2 separate regions of the Homo sapiens genome follow, and region 1 is linked to region 2. Evidence: promoter capture Hi-C in 16 types of primary human blood cells and fetal thymus (Javierre and others, 2016). All regions are on one chromosome and are shown on one strand. The core of a region is centred on a gene start or on the middle of the fragment in contact, and the rest is flanking DNA. Distances in the headings are between cores, read along the strand shown. Region 1 overlaps RNF187 (ring finger protein 187). Region 2 holds the start of OBSCN-AS1 (OBSCN antisense RNA 1).

What was found. The method cuts DNA at HindIII sites, captures the fragments that hold promoters and counts their contacts. A CHiCAGO score of 5 or more calls a contact.
Region 1: a fragment that was not itself captured here is called in contact with the fragment with the promoter of OBSCN-AS1 in region 2 in 10 of 17 cell types (naive CD8 T cells, erythroblasts, total B cells and 7 more); the score reaches 9.0 in naive CD8 T cells.

What each region holds. Positions count from the first base shown.
Region 1 is chr1:228,493,669-228,498,650 of GRCh38, forward strand. RNF187 (ring finger protein 187) reads left to right here. Exons shown (of 4, transcript NM_001010858.3): 4 at 215-2,520. The coding sequence ends at 217. Among named protein-coding and RNA genes, the nearest start is that of RNF187, 8.8 kb to the left of the region's middle. RefSeq lists an enhancer at 1-151. The HindIII fragment of the contact is 2,203 bases long and covers 1,031-3,233 here.
Region 2 is chr1:228,210,898-228,216,184 of GRCh38, forward strand. It overlaps OBSCN-AS1 (OBSCN antisense RNA 1), which reads right to left and starts at 2,758. Exons shown (of 2, transcript NR_073155.1): 1 at 2,525-2,758. It overlaps OBSCN (obscurin, cytoskeletal calmodulin and titin-interacting RhoGEF), which reads left to right. Exons shown (of 116, transcript NM_001386125.1): 2 at 869-1,874; 3 at 2,544-2,813; 4 at 3,277-3,537; 5 at 3,893-4,201; 6 at 4,666-4,932. The coding sequence starts at 887. RefSeq lists a silencer at 2,845-2,894. The HindIII fragment of the contact is 3,550 bases long and covers 484-4,033 here.

The sequences.
Region 1 (4,982 bases), core at 882-3,381, 280 kb after region 2:
TTCAGTTGCCCGTGCCAGCCATAGGTGACAAGGCTTTGGCCCTGGGGAGACGGAAGTCTGGGCCAGGCCCTGGGTTTGTTGTGCTCAGGACAGTACCTCATGCGCTGTCTCATGTGCGCTCTCTCTTTCGCTCTCTCCTTTTGCCTCTGTCTCTGACTCTGTGTGTCTCTTTCTCTTTTTGTCTCTCTGTCTTTCCCTCTCCCCTCCCATGCAGTGATGGCGCCAACCCGTGGCAGTCCCAGAGCTGGAGGCAGGAGGATGGATCCTCATCTCCATGGGAAGTGTCAGCGTGTGGCTGCCAGGGAAGCGTGGCAGGCGCCTGGCCTTGGGTCCATCTACATAGTTGCGTGTTTCAACAATGTCCATTTATCCTTCACCCCGAGGCGTGTTTTGGGGGCTGCAAACACCTCCCGGTAGAGGCTGGACCTGAGGACCCTTCCCACCTGTGCCCGTCCCTTCCTGAAGTCCTAGCCACAGCCCATCCTCCATGAGTCCCGGCAGCTCTGGGTCATGCCCTTCCCTGGTCACCCATCTGCCCCTCACCTCGTCATCCAGGGACCCAGACCCTGCACCTTCCATGTGGGCCCACAGATCCTTGGCAGGTACCTGAGGTGCACCATTGAGTGTCGGATTTGGGGTTAGCATCCAGAAAGAAGAATGCGCATGACGCTCTGTGAAGGCTGGAACTCAGGTCTTCAGGGAGAGAAAGGAAGACTGGATTGCACCTTGATGCCTCCTGAGGAGGCGGCCCCCCTCTTGAGGTGGGCGTGGGCCCGGCCCAGCCTTATCCAAGTCGCTCTGTCCACCTCCCCCTTCCTGGCCCCCACCCCACTCCTGTGCCTCCCAGGAGCCCTCCCTGTGCTCCACCTGCCTCCGCAGAAGGAAGCCTCTTTCTCTGTTTCCCTGGGTGAGGGGGCTGGCAGGTGGCTAACCCCATTTAGCATCTCCAGGCCCTGCCATCGTGTCTCATCTTGCTGTTATCTCTAGCTCTTTCCCTCCTCCCATTTCCTTTAGTAGTTGAATTTTGCAAAGCTTGTAGCAGTAGCTCAGTTGCCTGCAGCATCCTTGTGTGTAGATAAATTAGTCGACAGAAACTCAGCACTGGGGACAGGATTGCAAAGTCGGGGACATAGATGCAGACAGTTGTTGAGATTTGGGGATAGCCGGGCTTGTGAGCGGTGCCCATTTCCAGATGAAGCCTTTCAGCCCTTCTGAGTCCCCGGCCCTTGGTGCGATGTCTGTGAGTTTGACCTGCCCAGCGTGTGGGCTGGCTCAATGCTGAATAAAGTGGGTTTGTGTCAGCTCGTTTGCTTCGTCTCCGTGTGTCCACCTGGCCTCTTCCCCCTGCCCTGGCCACCCTCCAGTGTCAAAGGAAACTTCCTCGTGACACGTGCTAAAGCATGGTGAGGAGGACTTTGATTGGGACCATTGAGATGGGTGTGGGACCCTTTCCTTGGGGCCTGGGGGGAGATGGGGCTCCACCCCGACGTAGCAGGGCAGGGGTTGGAGGAGCGAGGAGCAGTATAGGGTCCATGGGTGGGAATGACTGTGAGGAGACATCAGGGCTGAGGGGGCTCTGGCTAAACCCACCTCACAGAGTCCTTGCTGCAGGCAGGCAGGGCGATCAGACATTGGCTGCAAACGGTCAGAGAGGAACCCAGTCAGGTACCATTGAGGGTGGTCAGATATTATGGTTAACCAAATTAGGGTTCTTGCTAAAACTGGATTTCATAAGAAAGGGCAAAGAGGGCCCTAGGAGAAGATTCCAGAGCCTGGCCAGAGTTTGGCCAAGTAGAGAATCTTTGTCAGCACGCCAACAACATCCCGACCCTGAGACCTCCAGTTTGTCTTTCTCACTGTCTCCGCCTGCTGCAGTCTGCTGTCATCCCTGAGCATCCCTGCCCCTGCCCTGCACACCTGTGATGCTTGCCCGGACAGGTCCTGATGGCAGAGTCTCCCACAACATCAGTGTCTCCACATCACCAGGTCCGACAGTGGCTTCACCATCCTCACCTAACCTAGCTGACCAGCAACATCCCACCCTGTCAATCACAACCTCTTTCTATTTAAGAAAATTATATATTTATGGGGCACAGTGTGATGTTTTGATATCTATGTACATTGTGGAGTGACAGATTAATGTATCCATCTCATGTTTTTTTTGGTGGTGAGAATATTTGAAATCTACACTCAGCAATTTCAAATACAGTCATCCCTCTGTGCCTAAGGGGGATTGGTTCCAGGACCCCCTCATGGATACCAAAATCTGCAGATACTCAAGTACCCTGCAGTCAGCCCTCCCTCTGCACATATGTGGGACAGTCAGATACAGAGGGCCAACTGCGTACAGTACACGGTTATCAGCTGAAGTCACCATGCTGTGCAATAGACCTTGAGTTTATTCTTGTATAGCAGGGACTCTGTACCCTCTGACTAGAATTTCCCCAAATCCTCTTGTCTCAGCCCCTGCTAACCACCGTTCTACTCTCTAATTCTATAAATCAACATTTTGATTCCACATATAAGTGAGATCATGTGATATTTGTCCTGTTCCTGGCTTATTTCACTTAATATAAATGTCCTGTAAATTCACCCATGTTGCAAATGGCAGGGTTTCCTTTTTTATGGCCAAATAGTATTCCATGATGTGTATACACCACATTTTCTTAAGCCATTTATCCACTTTATCCCTTTATCACTTTGCTTCTAGACCACGTAGGTTGATTCCGTATCTTGACTGTTGTAAAAGTGCTCTTAAGAAACACAGGAGTGTGGGTATCTCTTCCATATATTCATGTCGTTTCCTTTGGGAAAATACTTAGCAGTAGGATTGCTGGGTCACGGTACTCTTTTTAAGTTTTTGAATAACCTCCATATGCTTCTCCATAATGGCTATAATAATTTACATACTCACCAACATTTATTTTCTTTGAAATTAGTCATTCTAAGAAGTGTGAGATAATCTCATTGTGATTTGGTTTACGTTTCCCTGATGATTAATGATGTTGAGCATTTTTTTATATACCTGTTGGCCATTGGTATGTCTTCTTTTGAGAAGTGTCTCTTCAGGTTCTTTGCTCATTTTTTAGTCGTTTATTTGCTTTCCTGCTATTGAGTTTGAGTTCCATGTATATTTTGGATATTAACCCCCTACTTAATGTATGGTTTGCAAATACTCTATCCCAATTTGTGAGTTGTCTTCACTCTGTTTATGATTTCCTTTGCTGTGCAGAAGCTTTTTAGCTCTATGCAATCATGTATGTTTATTTTTCTTTTGTTGCTTGTGCTTTTAGGGTCATATGCAAGAAGTGATACAACCCTGAAACCTAGGCCAGTGTCATGGAGTTTTTCACCTGTGTTTTCTTCTACTGGCTTTACAGTTTCAGGCCTTACAATTAAGCCCTTGTCTGTTTTGAATGGATTTTTGTGTAGGGACATTCCCTCCACAAGGGCTTTCTCTGGCCTTGCTGATGCTCCTCCGTCTCCCTTGTGTCCTCTCCACTCCACCCTCTTCATGTGGAAGAACCCTTGGCATCCTCGTGTGGCCTCTCTGTCCTATCCAGCCCCCCATGGTGACCTCACACTTGCCTCTCTGACGTGGGTCTCTCTCCCAAACCCTCTTCCAGGTCCAACCACTGCCTCCATCCCAGACTTGCCCAGGGGCCCAATCCCTGCAGTCCTCAGACATCTCAGAGCTGTCTCTGAGTTGTTTTCTCTAACAGTCCACAATAGGTCTGCAAAGGAATCCTGCAGGCTCTTCCTGTAGCCAAAGACCTTGACCTCATCTTACCTGCTCCCCGCCAGTCCCCCACCGTGGCCCACTGGCACTGTCCTCTTCTGCCCAGGAGACCTGGGGACCTCATCTCCTCCCGCTGCTCCAACAATGCATTCTCAACCCAGCAGGTAGATGGGTTTCTACTTTAAAATATGTAGGATGAACCAGTCTGGTGATCCGATGTACAACAGGAGGAATGTAGGTAATAAAATTGCACTGTTTTGGGAGTTCCTGCTAAATGACTAGACTTCAGCTGCTCTTGCCACAAAATCCTAAAAGTGGTTGACTCTGGGAGGTGATGGGAATGTTAATTGCTCCCCTGTAGTGACCATTTTGCTATCTGTTTGTACTTTGTAACATCACGTTGCATACCTTAAATATACACAATGAAATTTATTAAAACAATGAAAATAAAAACTAAGCAAGAGCCTGCCCCTGCTGTACTCAAGGCCCTGCAGCAACTCAGATTCATTCCGGGAAAGCTTCGCAGTGGCCTGGGAAGTGCTACATAATCCACCCCGAGCTCTTCCTCTCTCGTCACCACTGTGCCCCCTGCTCCCTGCAGACCCAGCATGATGGCCTCTCTGTTCTTCAGCAAGCCAGGTGGGCCCTGCCTCGGCCTCTGATCTCCAGGGAACATTTCTCCCCCATACCTGTGTGGCGGTTGCCCCTCTCCTTCAGGTCTGCTCCCACAGGGTGTTTTATAGAAATGGCTTGAAACAGACGCCCTTCCTCAGCCCTTGACCACGCAAGCTCTGAGGAGCCACTGGTGTCCCTGTGGCTTTGCTGCAACCAGATCTCTCTGGTCAAGGGCAGCCCTAGGCAGGAGGATCTCCGAGGCTGGCTGTGGGTGACATGTGGAAGGAAACTGAGGCCAGGCACTGCATAGAAAAGCAACAGTTTGTTTGCTGGAAGGTAGGGGACACATTCTCAAGACACTGATGTATTTGTCCAGTAGCTCAATACTTTTTTCTCAACTCTTATTTTCAGAGCTTTGTGGGAAAGCCGTGGATAGTTGGGACCCAAAGGTCGTTTTCAGTTTCAGGATCCTGTGGCCAAAGAGAGGAGATAAAAATGCTTGGGGCCATTTTACCTTCTACATTACCTAACTGAGTAGCTATTATTTCATGAGGTTGACAGCAGCAAAATATAAGGAGATGCTTAAACTATTTAGTAACTGGAGAATCATAATTAAAACCATAATGAG
Region 2 (5,287 bases), core at 1,508-4,007:
AAAGAGCATGCCCCTGGGGAGGAGGGAGGTGTGTGACCCTGCAGAAGAGGTGAGGCCCCTCTGCAACAAGGGCAGCTTCAGGCCGGACTGGCCCCTCAGTGCAACCTGGAGGGGCTGCTGAAGGAGAGCTGCGTAGGGGTCGGGGGGAAGAGGAGGGAGTAAGGGCTTTGCCCAGGGCGGAGGGTGCATCTCACCTAGAAGAGGCTCAAAGGGGAGCCTGCCAGGGTGGAGAACCGGTGACCTCCTTGTGCGATAGGCAGAGGAGACGGGCATGAGACCGGTGCCCATGGTGGGCCTCCTGCACCCAGGCCTGCCGGGGCTCAGCGAGCCTCCCCTTCTTGATGTGGGGGACACACAGGCCAGCTGAAGTTTTAGGCCCGAGAGGCAGCAGTGTGTGCGGTAGGAGAAAGGATACCACCCCGCAGGTAGGGAGTGGCCTACAGTGCACCAGGCAGGTCTGCCTGCCTCAGGAAGGTGCAGCAAAGCTTGTAGGCTGGGAGGAACCAAAAATAGCGGGCACTGCGAGGGAGGGGGCCCTGCCTGGTTGCTAGGGGGTGTAGGTTTGGGACATGTGCTCCAGTAACTGCAGCTGAGGCAGTGGGTCCCTGTAGGTAGGGAGAGGGAAGGAGATGTTCTCAGCGGCTAGAAGAGCCGTTTGCAGGTGAGGTTACCAAACCCCAAATGCCCAGAAAGGGGCAAGTCTGCACTTCTGGGTCACGGTGCCAACCGGTGATGCTTCCTCAGGGCGCGGGGAGTGGGGGGGAAATAGGATGTGTGGAGGTGTTGAACTGGGTTCCTCAGGCGGCACGGTGGGGTGCACCCGGGCCTCATTCCAATCCCCACTAAGGCCATCCCCACCTACTTGCAGGTCCCCGCCGCCACCCTCATGGATCAGCCACAGTTCAGCGGGGCGCCCCGCTTTCTCACCCGGCCCAAGGCCTTCGTGGTGTCGGTGGGCAAGGACGCCACCCTCAGCTGCCAGATCGTGGGTAATCCCACGCCACAGGTGAGCTGGGAGAAGGACCAGCAGCCGGTGGCGGCCGGCGCGCGCTTCCGTCTGGCCCAGGACGGCGACCTCTACCGCCTCACTATCCTGGACCTGGCGCTGGGCGACAGTGGGCAATACGTGTGCCGCGCGCGCAATGCCATAGGCGAGGCCTTCGCTGCTGTGGGCCTGCAGGTGGACGCGGAGGCCGCGTGCGCCGAGCAGGCGCCGCACTTCCTGCTGCGGCCCACGTCCATCCGCGTGCGCGAGGGCTCAGAGGCCACCTTCCGCTGCCGCGTGGGTGGCTCCCCGAGGCCGGCAGTGAGCTGGTCCAAGGACGGGCGGCGCCTGGGTGAGCCCGACGGCCCCCGCGTGCGCGTGGAGGAGCTCGGCGAGGCAAGTGCGCTGCGCATTCGGGCGGCGCGGCCGCGCGACGGCGGCACTTACGAGGTCCGCGCCGAGAACCCGCTGGGCGCTGCCAGCGCCGCCGCGGCGCTAGTGGTGGACTCGGACGCCGCGGACACGGCCAGCCGGCCCGGGACCTCCACGGCCGCGCTCCTGGCGCACCTGCAGCGGCGGCGCGAGGCTATGCGCGCCGAGGGCGCCCCCGCCTCACCGCCCAGCACCGGCACGCGCACCTGCACGGTGACTGAAGGCAAGCACGCGCGCCTCAGCTGCTACGTGACCGGCGAGCCCAAGCCCGAGACGGTGTGGAAGAAGGACGGCCAGCTGGTGACCGAGGGCCGGCGCCACGTGGTGTACGAGGACGCGCAGGAGAACTTCGTGCTCAAGATCCTCTTCTGCAAGCAGTCGGACCGCGGCCTCTACACCTGCACGGCGTCCAACCTCGTGGGCCAGACCTACAGCTCTGTGCTGGTCGTAGTGCGCGGTGAGCTCCTGGGTGCGGGGCGCGCGGGCCCAGGCTCCTCCGCAACCCGTGCACCTGGGTCCTTTCGCCCTTGCGGTCTGCCGTTTCCCACCCGCGTCTGTCCGGTCGTGGAATCCAGGGTTGCAGGTGTCCGTTCCTGGTGCGCAAAATGCGGGCGACGCCCCACGACCTATTCTAAACACCCGCAACCCGCTTTCCCCACCCAGTCCCCTGCCCGCCCCGCCCCCTTTGCATGCCGCGCCCCCAACCCGCCACCGCTGGCCCACAGACAGGGGCGAGAGGTGTGAGAGGGGCGGGGCCGCAGGGGATCCCACCTCCTCAGCCCCGCCCTCTCCCTCCCGCTGCTCCCAACCCAACCTCCACCACTCTGCCTTCTGCTCTTCTACTCCCCCGCCCCCCAACTTCCTGTCTCCTCCCCTGCGCCCTTCCCAACCCTTAGCCCCTCTGCCTCCTGCTCGCTCCTCTCCCCAGCCCACTCCTCTACCCTGCACCCTCTCCTTTCCAGCCTCCCAGCCCCTCTGCTCCTGTCCCCTATTCCTTCCCACACCCTCACCTCTGCATCCTCCAGTCTCCTTTCCCGCCCACAATCCCCCAATTTCCCCCTTCCCACCCCGCCGTCGTCCTGCACCCTCCGGCCCCGCCCCTCTCACCAGTCTTCTCTCCTGGCAGAGCCCGCGGTTCCCTTCAAAAAGCGGCTGCAAGATCTGGAGGTGCGGGAGAAGGAGTCGGCCACGTTCCTATGTGAGGTGCCCCAGCCGTCCACTGAGGCCGCGTGGTTCAAGGAGGAGACGCGGTTGTGGGCGAGCGCCAAGTACGGCATCGAGGAGGAGGGCACCGAGCGCCGCCTGACCGTGCGCAATGTCTCGGCCGACGACGACGCGGTGTACATCTGCGAGACGCCAGAGGGCAGCCGCACGGTGGCGGAGCTCGCAGTCCAAGGCAGGCGGGGCGGGGCACGGGGCGGGGCACAGGGCGGCTTCGGGGAGGTAGCGGGGGCAAGGAGGCACCGAGAAGGGAGCCGGGGGCGGGGGAGGGGGGAGCCAGGCCGCACGGGCTGGGCGGGCACGGGGGCGGGCAGGGTGCAGACGGACTGGGCTTGCGAGGTACGAGTTGGGACTGGGGCAGGCAGGGGCGGGACTGGGGCGGGAAGGGCAGGTAAGGTGGGGGCGGAGGAGCAAGCTCGGGCCGGGCACGGGGTGGTGATTAGGGGGAAGGGGAGACGGAGTGGGCAGGGGTCTTGTGGGACCGAGCTGGGACTTGGGCCGGCGGGACAGGTAAGGGGTTGCGCGGGGGAGTGAATCGGAGGCAGTTGGGAACCGGGAGACAGGGGGCAAGCGGAGGAGCGAGTCTGGAGCGGGGCGTGCAGGGGCTGGTCTGACTGGCCCGGCTCCCTCCACCCCAGGAAACCTCCTCCGAAAGCTCCCTCGGAAGACGGCGGTGCGCGTGGGCGACACGGCTATGTTTTGCGTGGAGCTGGCGGTCCCGGTGGGCCCCGTCCACTGGCTGCGGAACCAGGAGGAAGTGGTGGCGGGGGGCCGCGTGGCCATCTCCGCGGAGGGCACGCGCCACACACTAACCATCTCCCAGTGCTGCCTGGAGGATGTGGGCCAGGTGGCCTTTATGGCTGGCGACTGCCAGACGTCCACCCAGTTCTGCGTGTCGGGTGAGGGCCTGAGGGTGCTCCCAGGATGGCATCGCTTCCCTGCTGTCTCCCTGGTCCCAGTCCCCTGCCCTCCATTACCTCAGCTCTCTGGGCTTCAGCCTGCTGTACCGAGGGCCGCCGGGCAAGACCATAGCCCTGGCCCTCCAACGTTAGGCTCCCTGAGCCCCCGCGCAGTCTTTCAGCTGCAACCAGAGAAGTGGCTGCAGGTCTGGGGCTGGAGGTTGTGGCCAGTGGTCCAGGTCCCCAGAGCAGCCCCAAGAGAGCTGGGGATCCTGTGACACCCCTCCAGGTGATTCCAGACCCAGGGCTCAGGAAGAGGCTCCCAGTAGTTGACCTCTGCCCACCCTCTACACAGCCCCCAGGAAGCCTCCCCTGCAACCCCCTGTGGATCCTGTGGTAAAGGCCAGGATGGAGAGTTCCGTGATTCTCAGCTGGTCCCCACCACCCCATGGGGAACGCCCTGTCACTATCGACGGCTACCTGGTAGAGAAGAAGAAGCTTGGCACCTACACCTGGATCAGGTGCCACGAGGCTGAATGGGTGGCTACACCTGAGCTGACCGTGGCTGATGTGGCGGAGGAGGGGAACTTCCAGTTCCGAGTGTCCGCTCTCAACAGCTTTGGTCAGAGTCCCTACCTCGAGTTCCCGGGGACTGTCCACCTGGGTAAGTGGGACCTCCCTGTTACAACCTACGGGGCTGCTCACCTGCCCCGGAATCCCCCAGGTCCAGCTTCAGGGGAGGCCAGAGTGGCCTCATGGGGACCTTCTGTGGGGAGGGGGGCTGCCAAGGCCTTGCCCTGGTGCAGTGTCCGTGGTGGGAAGGATAGGTGACCCCACTACAGGGCCCCTGGGAGCCTGCCTGTCTCCAGCAGACCCAGGGGACGGGGCTCCAGGGCTGCCCCACTCTGGTGGGGCTTGTAGGATGCTGGAGGGGTCTCAGGGCAGCTGTACCTTGTCCTTGTTCCTTCATGAGCCTGACTCATGCTATGGTCGCTCTGTGTGTTGGCTGGGCTTCCTGGAGGAGGAACATTTAGGTCTAGGCTCTGTAGGAAGAGAAGGGGAAGGCAGAGACCTCCTCAGCACTCCCCACTCCTCCTCGGCCCCTTTCTGACGCTGCCCGCCCCACAGCCCCCAAGCTGGCCGTGAGGACACCGCTGAAGGCGGTGCAGGCGGTAGAGGGTGGCGAGGTCACTTTCTCCGTGGACCTCACGGTGGCCTCAGCGGGTGAGTGGTTCCTGGATGGGCAGGCCCTGAAGGCCAGCAGTGTGTATGAGATCCACTGTGATCGCACCCGGCACACGCTCACCATCCGGGAGGTGCCCGCCAGCCTGCACGGGGCGCAGCTGAAGTTCGTGGCCAACGGCATTGAGAGCAGCATCCGGATGGAGGTCCGGGGTAGGTGGAGGGCCCCAGCTTGGGACCCTGAGCCTCATTTCTCCAGGGTGGGCGGTGTCAGGGCTCCAGGTAGGGCTGCTACAGGTCTGAGGGCCCCAGGACACCCTGTCAGCCTGCAGGTCACTGGGATGAAGCAGGCAGGGTGGTGGGCGTGTGAGGACTCACCCAGGCTGGCTGGTGGCACTGGTCCCTGGTGTCTGGGTGAGGGCCTGGGGCTGCAGGGGTCCTGCTGGGCAGAGCCTCATGTCTGTCTCCCCACTTTCCTCCTTTCCCCCTCCTGCCTCCTCTATCTTGTTAATCTTTTCCCTTCCGTTTCTTTCCTGCTTTTTTCTGTCTCTGCCATCCCATGCCTGGC